Regions from separate parts of the Homo sapiens genome. Here region 1 is linked to region 2. The links are contacts of gene promoters, found by promoter capture Hi-C in human tissues and cell types (Jung and others, 2019). All regions are on one chromosome and are shown on one strand. Each heading gives the region's core, a stretch centred on a gene start or on the middle of the fragment in contact. The rest is flanking DNA. Distances are from core to core; before and after follow the strand shown. Region 1 overlaps IREB2 (iron responsive element binding protein 2). Region 2 holds the start of CHRNA5 (cholinergic receptor nicotinic alpha 5 subunit).

Region 1 (6,422 bases), core at 1,180-3,679, 110 kb before region 2:
AAAGTGCTAGGATTACAGGAGTGAGCCACCACACCTGGTGGATTTTGGATTTTTGGATTAGGGATACTCAACCTGTAGTACAATTTGGTGCCACTGCTTTGAGTCCTGCTAAGGCATCAGCAGTTTAGGACCACATTTCGAAAATCACAGTATAGGGTTGGGGGACCACCTAGGGAACCTAAGTGAGAGATGATGTACTGGTGGTTGGGACTAGATTTAATGGTGATATTGATAGAAGACAAAAAGATGTAGGAGAGAGGCATTGAGGAAAATGCCTCGATGTTTTGGCATAAACATCTGGAAGGATGGTGGTGCTATTTACTGTGCTAGGGAATGGAAGATGAGGTGATGATAAGGGGAAGGGGCAGAGGGGAAATCACTGAGTTCAAGTTTAGGTACTAGTGAAGTTGGGAACATACCAGTATTAAAGTAAACATGTTCACCTCCTGAATCGGGCATGTGGTTTTGGAGCTTAGAAGACAGACTTGGACTACAGAAAATATTTTGGAATTATTAGTGTAGATGTAGTGATAATTGAAGCCATAGGAGCAGTTGTACTCCCTGGAGGAAGCAGTATAGAGTAAGAAAAAAAGTGAGTCTCAATATGAACTCTGAGGAACTCCTACATTTAGATATCAGATAAAGGAGTAGAGGTTAACAAGGAAGATAGGCCTACCTAGAAGTGTTAAGAACTATAAAGGAGGCTTGGCATGGTGACCCACACCTGTAATCTCAGCACTTTGGGAGGCTGAGGCGGGAGGATCTCTTGAGCCCAGGAGTTCGAGACCAGCCTGGGCAACATAGTGAGACCCCCATTTCAATTTTAAAAAAATGAAAAAGAACTATAAAGGATCTAAAATTTTACCTTCCTTGGAAGTTAACAAATTAGCCTGACGTAGTTTCATGTATGTTGGCAGGAGGCACCCAACTCCTGGATCAGAGACAATGGACAGTTTATTACTCACAGCAAAGCATTATCCTTATTAACAGTATTTATGTTGGTTTCCCAAGCTCTAGTTTCTATAGGGTAATGTTGAAGAAGGCCAGGTAACACCTGCACACACAGGTGTTGTGTTACTTACAGAAAAGGAACTGTGGCTTAGGAAACCCAAGTCTTTTATAATGGGTAGTAAGCATGCCTGCTCTTTGCTCCAGAGCAAGACGCTATCGTGTATTTGAAAACTATTCACTATATAGACATATCTGAAAAAATAGTCTGGAACAAAGGTAGTCATTACCTCTGTTCACAAGTCTTGAAGAAATGTGAGATGGGAGACATGGAAAATTGTCTTCCAACAATATGTTAGAAGGAAAACTGGAGGATGGTGCTGTGGAATCCAGTAGAAAGAGTGTTTCAAAAAGGAGGTAATTATTAGCTCTTTTGAATATTGCTACAAGGCTGTTGGGATTCTAGCTAGACCTGCTTCATTCGTGTTTAAGGACAGAAATAATATTGATTAGGGCTAAGGTGAGTGGAAGGTAGAAAAGTGGGCACTTTTAGAGAATTTGAAGGAAGCAGTACTTTTGTTGTCAACTGGGGCTAGGAGCTGTTTAAATGTTGATGGGAAGAAACCAGTTGAATTGCAAACCAGTTTGCAAAAAAAGGAGAGAGGAAATGATTGATGACTCTTGAGTCCTAAAATGGTTAATGGAAATAGGATGCAAAACTCCTATAGAGAAGTTATCATTTAGTAGGAGGAAGTCCGCAGCTCCCTTAACTGGTGAAAGGGTGAATCCAGAGGCAGCAAGGCTTGTGGGTATAGTAGGAGGAAGTTGAGAGGTAGGAACTGTTAGTTTCTATTTATCAGTGAGGTAGGAAACGGGGCTAGGTCCTCTAGAAGATAAATAGAGATTAAATTTTAAGGAGAGTGGATGAAGATAAGAATTAATTGATGTGGAGTGTGGGAAAATAAGCAGATCAGAGAAACATTAGGATTTCGAATAGTGAGGACCTGATTGAGGTTATAATCATGTGTTTACATTAGTGCCAGTTTCTCTGCGTTGATGTTTTAGGAATTTTTTCCTCATTCTTCCTCCTCAACATAAAACTTAAAACCACAACAAATTACCATTCATACCTGTTAGAATGGGTACTGTATAAAAGACAGACAGTGACAAATGTTGGGGAGGATATGGAGAAATGGGAAACCTCATACACTGCTAGTGGGAATGTAAAATAGTGCAGCCACTTTGGGAAACAATTTGGCAGTTTGTTAAAAAGTTAAACATAAATTTACCACGTAGCCCAGCAATATCATTCCTAAGTATCTATCCAAGAAAAATGAAAACATTTATTACACAAAGATTTTCAAATGATCTTAGCAGCATTATTCATAGCCGAAAATTGAAACCAACTTAAATGTCCTGCAGTGGGTGAATGAATAGGCAAAACTTTGGTATACAATGGAATACTATTTGGCAGTAAAAAGAAATTGACTACAGATACTTGCTACAATGTGGATGAACTGTAAAAAGCAGGCTTAGTGAAAAAAATACAGGCATAAGAAACTTTATTTTATGATTTCATTCATATGAAATGCCCAGGAAAGGCATAGAGTAGATTGGTGGTTTCTTGGGTTAGAGAGGAGGGGGAGAGGGATTAACAGTAAATAGGCATGAGAGATCTGTTGGGATGATGAAAATGTTCTAAAACTGATTTATGATGTTGATTGTACAACTTGGTAAACTTACGTTACAAAAATCGCTAAATCATACACTTGGAAAGGATGAATTATAAGATATATACAATATGCCTTAATAAACTTAGGACTTGTTTTATTATTTATTTAGAGACAGGGTCTTACTCTGTCGCCCAGGCTGGAGTGCAGTGGCATGATCACGGCTCACTGCAGCCTTGACCTCCTGGGCTCAAGGGAGCCTCCCGCTTCAGCCTCGTTAGTAGTTAGGATCACAGGTGCACACCACTGTGCCTGATGAATTTTTTATTTTCTTGTAGAGATGATCTTGTTATGTTGCCCAGGTTGTCCGAATTCCTAGGGTCAAGTGATCCTCTTACCTTGGCCTCTCAAAGTGCTGGGATTACAGGCATGAGCCACTGTGCCCAGCCAGTAAAGTTAGTTTTAAAAAAGAGAGAATAGTTCTTAAGCAGGGAGGTGATGTGGAGTGGACCAGCTGCGGGGACGGGGTGAAAAAAGAACAGGATTGGTGTTTTCTTGGGCAAATGGGGTAAAAGAACAAAGAGGAAATAAATGTAGGGTTTGGGGAAGTGAGAGATTGAACCACATTGACCCTAACTGCCTAAGTAAGGAAAGCGTGGATAGGCTGGTGCCAACGAGTAAGGAGAAAGTCCCCACAGTATTGAAGAACAGATGTGGTAAGAGTGGGGATCAGAGAGGTTCTGAAGTTTAGGAAGCTTGCAAGATGGTATAGTTGGAGCACAAGAGCGTATGTAGAGGTGAGATGGGGAGAGTAGGGAGGAAGAAAGGAAATAAATGGGCCTTCCTGAACTTTATACCTGTTTGAAAGTGGGGACGTAGAATTAATATTGTTGAAAAAGCAAACCAAGGCTGGACATAGTGTCTCCTGCCTTTAATCCCAGCACTTTGGAAGGCCAAGGCTGGAGGATTGCTCGAGGCCAGAAGTTGGGAGACCATCCTGGGCAACATAGGAAAATCCCATCTCTATTGAAAAAAAAAAGAAAAAAAGAAAAAAACCAGAGCATATGTCCATTTTTCACATCTGCTAATTTACTCTCTATTGTTGTAACTCTTCTACTGGAATATCTACCTGTAGGTTTAATTTAAGGGTTAAATGGAATAATTTATATAAAGCACCTCTGCATCTGCCCCTTAGTCCTAAATAAACAACTGCAGATGATATTGTTGGAAAAGTTGAGGAAGAAAAGATATTTGTTATCTATTACTGCATAACAAACCAAAAGCAACAGTAAAGATTTATGACAGTCACAGTTTCTGTAGGTCAGGAATTTGCAGTGGCTTAGTCGATAGTCCTGGCCCAAGGCCTCACTCACATGGCTGACAGGCTGGCGCTCCCTGATGATGGAGAGGCTTCAGTTCTTTTCCATAAGGGCCTCTCCTCAGTGCTGCTCAATAGTCTCATAATAGGCTGCTGGCTTTTCACCGAGTAATCTAAGAGAGGAAGGTTGAAGCCAAAAGACTTTTATAGCCTAGCTTTGGAAGGCTCACACTGTCATCTCTGCCATACTCTAAATAGAGTCAGACAAGCAGAACTGATTTCAATACAGATTATATGAGAGCATGACTATCAGAAGGCAAGTATTATTGGTATCATCTTGGAGATTGGCTACCACAGGGAGAAATAAGAAATTTTGTTTTTGTTTTGAGAGACAGTGGTATTTTTATTCATTTGCATCTTCCCTGGCAGTAGGTCTCTAGTCATTACTTTTACAAATTTAGACAAATTTGAGATAGTTGGTGCTTCTTCATGACAAAATGTTGAGTTAACATTTGTGGGACCAGGTGTGGTGGCTGGCTTATGCCTGTAATCCCAGTACTTTGGGAGGCCAAGGTGGGAGGATTGCTTGAGCCCAGGAGTTCGAGAACTCCCTGGGCAACATGGCGAAACCCTATTGCTACAAAAAAAAATTACGAGAATCAGCTGGGCATAGTGGTATACGCCTGTAGCTCAGCTACTCTGGAGGCTGAGGTGGGAGGATTGCCCGAGCCCAGGAGGTCAAGGGTGTAGTGAGCCATGATCGTGCCACTGCACTCTAGCTTGGGTGACAGAGCAAGTCCTTATCTCAAAAAAAAAAAAAAATACATTTGTGATTAGTGTTTTCTCGTAGCACTCTTATTTGATAATTGCTTTTTAATTTTTAAATAAGAATTTTTTAATACCCTACTTGTTAAATTATAACTAAAACAGTAGCCTTTTGCCCTGTCCCCAATTTCTACTCCCCAGAGAATACTATTTTCAATTCTCTTGACTGTTTCTTCAGGTAATTTCCTCCATGTTGTTAAATTGCCCTTCTTATACTACTCTTTCTTGATTTTCCGATTTTAGACTTTAGTAGTTTTATACTGTGAAAATGGTAATTTGGCACTTCTTCTGTATATTTATGCAACTCATAATTTTTGGTGGAATCAATGTTGAGCATTTATGTTATGACTATAAATGTTCTTAGCCAATCCTTGTAGTAATGATGATTGTATCTCATCTCTCATATAACTTTGTATTTTTCCTGGGATTAATGGATTGCCTTTTTTTGTTTGCTTAGTACTCTATGTCCTTATGAATAAATCATCTCTGAACTCTCCAAAAGAACTAAATTCCTCCTCCTGGTATAATCATGTAATCTATTGGTTATTTTTTTTTCTTCTGTTGATGACATGCTATCTGGACTTCATCTTCTGGTCCATCTGGGACTGACTGCATTGTAGCTTGCACAGCCGTTGTTGTAGAAGAGTCTGCTCTCTCTTTGTTTTGGAGACTCTCCAAGATTTAGTGGTTTTCTGTTTTTTGTTTACTCTCTGATTTTATAGAGCATGTCCTCTACTAGATTCCTAAGAAAGGATGCCTGAGAAATACATTTTTGAGACCTTGCTTGATTAATTGATAGTTTTCCTGTGTGTAAATTTCTTGGTTGGAAATTATTTTCATTTGGAATTTTGAAGGCATTTTTCCATTGTCTGCTAGCTTTTAACACTCCTCATAAGAAATCTCAGGCAATCCTGATTTCCTAAACTTTGTTTCTGCTTGCCTTTCCCCCATGTAGACATTTTAAGTTTCAGCTGTCTCTCCTCTGTTCTGCTCAGTCCATTACCAGTCATCCATCTAGTAATACTTTGTTTTTCAAAATTTTTTTGGCTTTGCCTCACCCTGTCACTTTTTTTCTAGTGGGTTTATAACTTTTATAAACAAAAAATATTCCTGAGATTGTTTTTCCATAATAATTATCTAAATAAAAGGTTAATCTTGTATATAATTTCTGTGATAATATTTTCCTTCTCATTATCTCCAAATGTTCTATTAAAAAATTTTTCCCCTGTAATTCCCCTTGGTTTGGGGAATTTTTATGTTTCTGATTGAAGTAAGGATGGAAACTAATATTGGTTAAGTGCCAACTATTTATTGTAATTTGAGAGCTTTACATGTACCAACTAGATAGACGAGGTAAGGAAGATATTCTTCACATCTCTGTTAGGTAGCTGACAGTCCCATTTTAGTGAGAAAATGTATCAACTTAGTCACTTTCCAAAGGCCATACCTGTAGTAAATACAGGCTTTGAATCTAGTATTTCTGATAACTGTAATCCTTTTTCTACTTTACGTACAACTTTATGGGTCTTTGTGTGTGAAAAATTTCAAACATGAAAGTAGGGAAATACACAACACTAAGAGTGAACCCTAATGTAAACTGTGGGGTTGGGGTGATTGTGATATGCTGATACAGGTTCATCAATTGTAATAAATATACAGCT
Region 2 (6,171 bases), core at 3,275-5,774:
GCATCCATTTTTATCTTTAATTAACTTTTCAGTTTGGCTTTCATCTTAAAGGCTCACGGCAGAATTTATTACCAAGCCATAATAGAAGTGCTGAATGGAAGATTCAGAGAAGCTGCCTAGCTCTGAATTTAGCTCAGTTGACCCCATTATAAAAAAGAAAAGTGAACAACATTGATATAAAAGACAACTCATTAGGCCATACCACTCACAGATGACAATGTTTATTTTTGATGTCTGCTATTTACTTGGCCTCCTAATTCCCTTTCCATGCACTCTCTTTTTAACTCCAAAGCACCAACTGCCCTTTACTTAAGGGTTTTGTAAGGATGAAAGTACGTCAGAGAATAATTGCTACATAAATAATAATAGCTACCATCTATTGAACACTCAAGCACTGTGCTAAGGACTTTATGAACTTTACATTCTGTGAGGCAGGTTTTATGGCACTGTTTAAAAAGTTAGTAATAGGGCTTAAAGAGATTAACTTTAGTTTAGTGAATGGTTAAGTCCTTGAAGTCAGGTCACCTGGATTCGAATCCCTGCCCACTATTTTCTAGCTCGCTAGCTCTCAGATCTTTGGATTCATTTATTCAGTGAAAGTAATGAGCAGAGGGAGTACAGGGCCCAACTTAGAGAGATTGCTTTCATACAAGAAGTGACGATCAGCCCAGTGCTGAAGGAGGAGTAGGAGTTAGGCAAGGCAGAGGAGGAGGAGGGGTGGAGAGAGATTAGTCCAGGCAGAGGGAACAGCATGTGTGAAGGCCCTAGGGTGGGACTGGGCTTGGTGGTTCCTGGACTGAAGGGGCCCATGTGGCTGGAATTTAGCATGCAAAGGGGAGGGGTGTGATGTGGAGTTTGTGAGCGTAGCGGGGGCCCCTCTAAGAATCATGACAAGGACTTGGGATTTTGTTTCTGTTTGAAGACAATCACTCAGGCTGCCATCTGGAGAGTGTGTTGGAGGATGCAGGGAAGGAGACCCAGTGAGAGGCTGGGGCAGGAGTCTAAGATAGAGATGCATTTGAATAAACTAGGAGTGGAAAGGAGATACAAGAGATGGATTCAAAATAAATTCAAGGCTGGCCAGGCACGGTGGCTCACACCTGTAATCCCAGCACCTTGGGATGCTGAGGCAGGTGGATCACCTGGAGTTCGAGACCAGCCTGACCAACATGGTGAAACACTATCTCTACTAAAAATACAAAATTAGCTGGGCCTGGTGGCGCATGCTTGTAATCTCAGCTACTTGGGAGGCTGAGGCAGGAGAATCACTTGAACCTGGGAGGCAGAGGTTGCAGTGAGTTGACATCGCACCATTGCACTCCAGCCTGGGCAACAAGAGTGAAACTCCTTCTTAAAAATAAATACATAAAAATAAATAAATAAATAAATAAATTCCAGGTAAATAGCACTTAGAGTTGAATTAGACTCGGTGGGTGAAGCAGAGGGAGGAACTCAGGATGACTTCCAGTTTTCTAGCTTGAGTAATTAGTCAGATGGTGGTATCATTGATTGAGATGGGAAGGCTAAGAGGATAACATGGTTTGGAACATCTTAAGTGACATAACTAAGTGATTATGATGTAAAGTACATAGTCAAATACACTGGAGCTCAGAGGTGAGATCAGCACCTATCTGAGTATGAATCTGGTCATCATCAATATATGGATGGTATTTACAGCCAGGGAAGTGAATAAGATCACTGAGGGGGGAAGTTTACAGAGACAGAATAGGTCCCAGATTTGAGCCTCTGGAATTTCCAACATGCAAAGCCTGGGTAGAAGAGGAGGAACCTGCCAAGAGAACTGAGAAGGTGTTGGCCAAAACAAGGATAATAAAAGTACCACTCCTGTAATATTGATACTAAATGAACTAGCATATTAAAACGTGTTTAAATTCTTACAGTCCCCATTACTTAGCAGTGTTAAGATAATTGTTAAATTCTACTTTCTATGGCAAGGTACTGACTGGCAAGTAGGTATTATAAAGGTGAACAAGACATAGCCCCGCTGGGTATGGTGGTTCACACTCCTAATCCCAGCATTCTGGGAGGCCGAGGTGGGAGGATCTCTTGAGCCCAGGAGTTTGAGACAAGCCTAGACAGCATAGTTAGACCTTGTCTCTACCAAAAAAAAAAAAAAAAGAAAGAAACAAACAAAAAAATCAAAACTAAAAAAATTAGCTGGTTGTAGGGGTGCACCCCTGTAATCCCAGCTACTTGATAGGCAGGGGAGGGAGGATCGCTTGAGTTTGAGCCCTGGAGGTTGAGGCCACAGTGAGCTATCATCACACTGCTACACACTCCAGCCTGGGCAAGAGTAAAGCCCTGTCTCTACTAGGAAAAAAAAAAAAAAAAAAAAAAAAAAAAGACATAGCCTCTAGGCTGAGAAATCCACTATCTAGTAGAGAACATAATTATGGAGAAATAGATAAAGAGAAGGCAGGTGGCATTTGAAATGAGCCTTGAAGAAAGCGTGGGTTTGGATATTCAGAAGAGGGGAGAAGGAAGGATAAATGAAGACAGGAAAGTGTAATAAAAATTCCACAATCTTCAGAGGAAAAGGTGGTGTCTGGGATGCAAGAACTGTGTAATAGTCCCTTTGGCTAAGTCTCAGAAAGTTGGTAGATAGATGCCACTTTAGGGGAACTTTGTAGGTGGTGGCTGCAGCAACAGCAGCAATTTTCATTGTCATTTGGTCAGCTAATGTCTCCTAGCAGTGTGAAGATGCCTGTTATCAGAGTCAGGTGTAGCACCATATCCAGCAACCATGAGTAATTGGCGTATCCCCCTGGAAAAACCATGTAAGATGTAGACATTATATTCTGATTATTTGTTTGGATTTTAAAATGCCCAACAAATGTCACGCTTTGCCTTTCACTTAATAGCAACAATTAATAGTGTTTTTCATAGATTATGTAAATAACCATCATTCTCATGATTATTGATATAACATCTAGGAGTTCCAATTATACTTGCAGTGGCTGCACTGACAACCATTTCATTCTAGTTTTGCCACTGACAGGTACTGTGACCTTCAGCAGTTATTCAACTCCTCTGTTTCAAATCAGTTAGCTGTAAAAGCAGAATAACATTTTAAAGTCATCCAAACACTGTTAGGATGAATTGCATAAGTGCCTGTAAGTCCCATAAATTCTTCAGAGTAAAATGTAAATTTGCAGTGAAAGGATGATAGGTACTGTCTTTCATTTCTGTGCAGAAGTGCAATTAATTACTAATCTGGTTAACATCTTGTGCATCCCTTTTCTGTGGCCCCTTTGTTTAAGTCCTGTTTAAACAGATTGGCTCCATTGGATGTAATTTACATTTTTCCAGCTGTATTTGGACCTAAGAAGAGCATCTTCACTGAATTTTGCTGTTTAGATTCTTTGCAACCAGGTTTAGTTTTTCACAGATTTACTAGTCTGGAGGGTGGAGTGAAATTTTTGCTCACAATGAGTCTTAGAGGTGTCACCTCCATAAAGCGTTCTGTGAAGAGTCAGCGGCTCCCTCTGCCACTGAAGTTTAAAGATAATTCGCCTGAATCCCTTCAGCCAAATGAAGCTTTCTAATTATGGACAGAGAGGATGAAATATAGGGTCTGGAGGGATTTGAGACGGGTTTCCAGCAGTCGGCACCAATCTCCACCAGAGGTGCTAAGTGTCTGTAGCAGATAGTCACTAATATTTACAAATGTTAATTGATGACAACACGGAGGGCGATGCCCACGTTTGAGGCGACTGCATATCATTTCCGGGGATGGCTTGAGTGAGTGTCAGAGCTGTACCTTCCCGAGTCCTCTAGTTTATCTGCCTCGGTTCCTCGCTTCCAGACGAGGAAACAGGCCCAGAGAGGAAAGTGACTTGCCCAGGGTTGTCTCGCTGGTCCACAACACAGGTCTCCTGGTGGGGACCCCTTGGCTGACACGACAGCCCCAGGAGGCAGTCAAGCTGCGACTGGTACTTCCTGGTGAGAAAGACTTGAGTGGGCAGCGGGGCCCATGGAGAGCGCTGCAGCCTGGAGCAAGTCCCCCACCACTGTGATTCTGCCCCAGCCTCCAGCTTGTTTCTTTCTGATCACAACTCGGAATTACTTTATTTACATTTTCTATCAGCTGGGAGCAATCTGTCCCTCTGCTTCCCCTTTTGGTGCTGAGCACAGAGCAGACATCAATGAATAGCTGTTATCTTAAGGTGTGCAGTGACTAGGCCAAGGACATCCGGTGGTTAGAGAAGGACGCGCCTGCGATGCCAGCCTCAAGTCTTTGCCTTCCTGGAACTCTGCTCCAGGGTCGCACCTGCCCAAAGGAAGGCCTGGAGGCGGGGGCCAGGGCGATGGGGCTGGGCCAGGCGTGGAAAAAGAGGAGCTAGGAGCAGACAGGGTTGGACCAGAGGCGGGGCGGGGTGGGGAAAGGGTTGGTGGGGATCGGAGGCGGGGCTATGAATAGACCGGACTGGGCCAAAAGGAACAAGGCGAGGATTGGGCGGGGCCAGAGGGAAATAGGGGCGGGGCTAGGCGCCGGGAGCTTCCACATGCGTCCCGAGCCCGCCAGAAGCTGCTAGGCTGAGGCTGCTGTCCCGGCGGGAGCTGTGGCGCGGAGCGGCCCCTCTGCTGCGTCTGCCCTCGTTTTGTCTCACGACTCACACTCAGTGCTCCATTCCCCAAGAGTTCGCGTTCCCCGCGCGGCGGTCGAGAGGCGGCTGCCCGCGGTCCCGCGCGGGCGCGGGGCGATGGCGGCGCGGGGGTCAGGGCCCCGCGCGCTCCGCCTGCTGCTCTTGGTCCAGCTGGTCGCGGGGCGCTGCGGTCTAGCGGGCGCGGCGGGCGGCGCGCAGAGAGGTAAGCCCGGGCTGCAGAGGGGCGGGGCGGGAGCTGGCCCGGACTCCACATCGCGGTGCCCAGGAAGCCGCCAGGCGACGGCCGCCGGAAAACCTGGTTGCGAGGGGAGGTGGGTTTTTTTCTCCTGGGGGCTTGGAGTGAGGTTTCAGTTTAAATGTCCAGATTTGCTCATTTAAATGCAGAGAAAGGGCTACTTGGGTGGGTTTTCTTTGTTGTTCCACGACCTGCATCGCTGGAGACTACGAGGCTGGCTTAGCGTATACTTCCACACAACTTTTTCAGTAAAAGATGCCACTCTTGTCCAGCAGGGCTTTCCTGTCCTGGTGGCAGCCAAGCTTCCCATTTTGTTGCCCATTTACGGGATATAGAGACTCTGGGGTTCATTCTAGGGGTTGGGACTTATCTTCCACCTCCTGCCCGCCGCCTCTTCCTCCATCCCTGTCCCCTACCCACCGCAGCATTTGAAAACCTTTCCTTTCGCCGGAGATGAAAGGTGTGTGTTGTAGCAGGCTAGGCGGCCAACTTCCCTGGCTTCGGGGCTAATCGTTTGCATCCAGAGTTCCTCACTAGCTCCTTAGAGCACAGCTTTTTTCAGCCTGCTGTTTTTCAAGAGGTTTTGGACAGGAATGGAAACAACAAAAGAAATCGCGTAGTCCTACATGTTTCAAGTGCTTGGGAAAGTTTTAGAGTCAGTTCTCTCAATACCTTGAAGAAAAACACGTTTGTGGAGCAGCTATGGTGTGATCTAAACGTAGAAAAGCTAAGCATCCGTTAAGCAAGATATGATTACAGAAGTTCACTACGTCTGTATTTCAGGTTTTATGAGTGAGTTTCTTAAATAGTGGAAATATTGCAAGAACCTTTTCTTGCCTTTCCTTTGTTAAGGTTTTTAATCTATGGCTCCTGATTTTAGGAAGTAATAAGACTAGAATAATTCATTGCAGGATGTATTGCTTAGTGTAGACCGAAGAGAAATAAGATGGAGGGTGATTTAAACAAATGAAGAAAATCCTGGGCAGAGAGAGTTAAACAGAAAGAAAGGAATGTGATTTTGGAGCCAGGCAAACCTGTATTCAAATTATGGCTCTGGTGCATCCTGACTGGACGAACTTCTCTCAGCTGTTTTCCTTCTTTAAGAAATGGCGGGCCGGGCGCGGTGGCTCACGCCTGTAATCCCAGCACTTTGGGAGGCCGAGGCGGGCAGATCACGAGGTCAGGAGATCGAGACCATCCTGGCTAACACAGTGAAACCCCGTCTCTACTAAAAATACAAAAAAATTAGCCGGGCGTGGTGGTGCGCGCCTGTAGTCCCAGCTACTCGGGAGGCTGAGGCAGGAGAAT

Evidence for each region. The method cuts DNA at HindIII sites, captures the fragments that hold promoters and counts their contacts. A contact is called where the count stands out against the background at its distance.
Region 1: a fragment that was not itself captured here is called in contact with the fragment with the promoter of CHRNA5 in region 2 in 4 of the 25 tissues and cell types used here (heart right ventricle, lymphoblastoid cells, mesenchymal stem cells and 1 more).

Annotation. Positions count from the first base shown.
Region 1 is chr15:78,451,923-78,458,344 of GRCh38, forward strand. The region is part of intron 2 of IREB2 (iron responsive element binding protein 2); the gene reads left to right. Among named protein-coding and RNA genes, the nearest start is that of IREB2, 17 kb to the left of the region's middle. The HindIII fragment of the contact is 7,438 bases long and covers 1-6,148 here.
Region 2 is chr15:78,560,996-78,567,166 of GRCh38, forward strand. It overlaps CHRNA5 (cholinergic receptor nicotinic alpha 5 subunit), which reads left to right and starts at 4,525. Exons shown (of 6, transcript NM_000745.4): 1 at 4,525-4,830. The coding sequence starts at 4,725. RefSeq lists an enhancer at 3,723-3,912 and a silencer at 4,723-4,812. The HindIII fragment of the contact is 8,456 bases long and covers 1,390-6,171 here.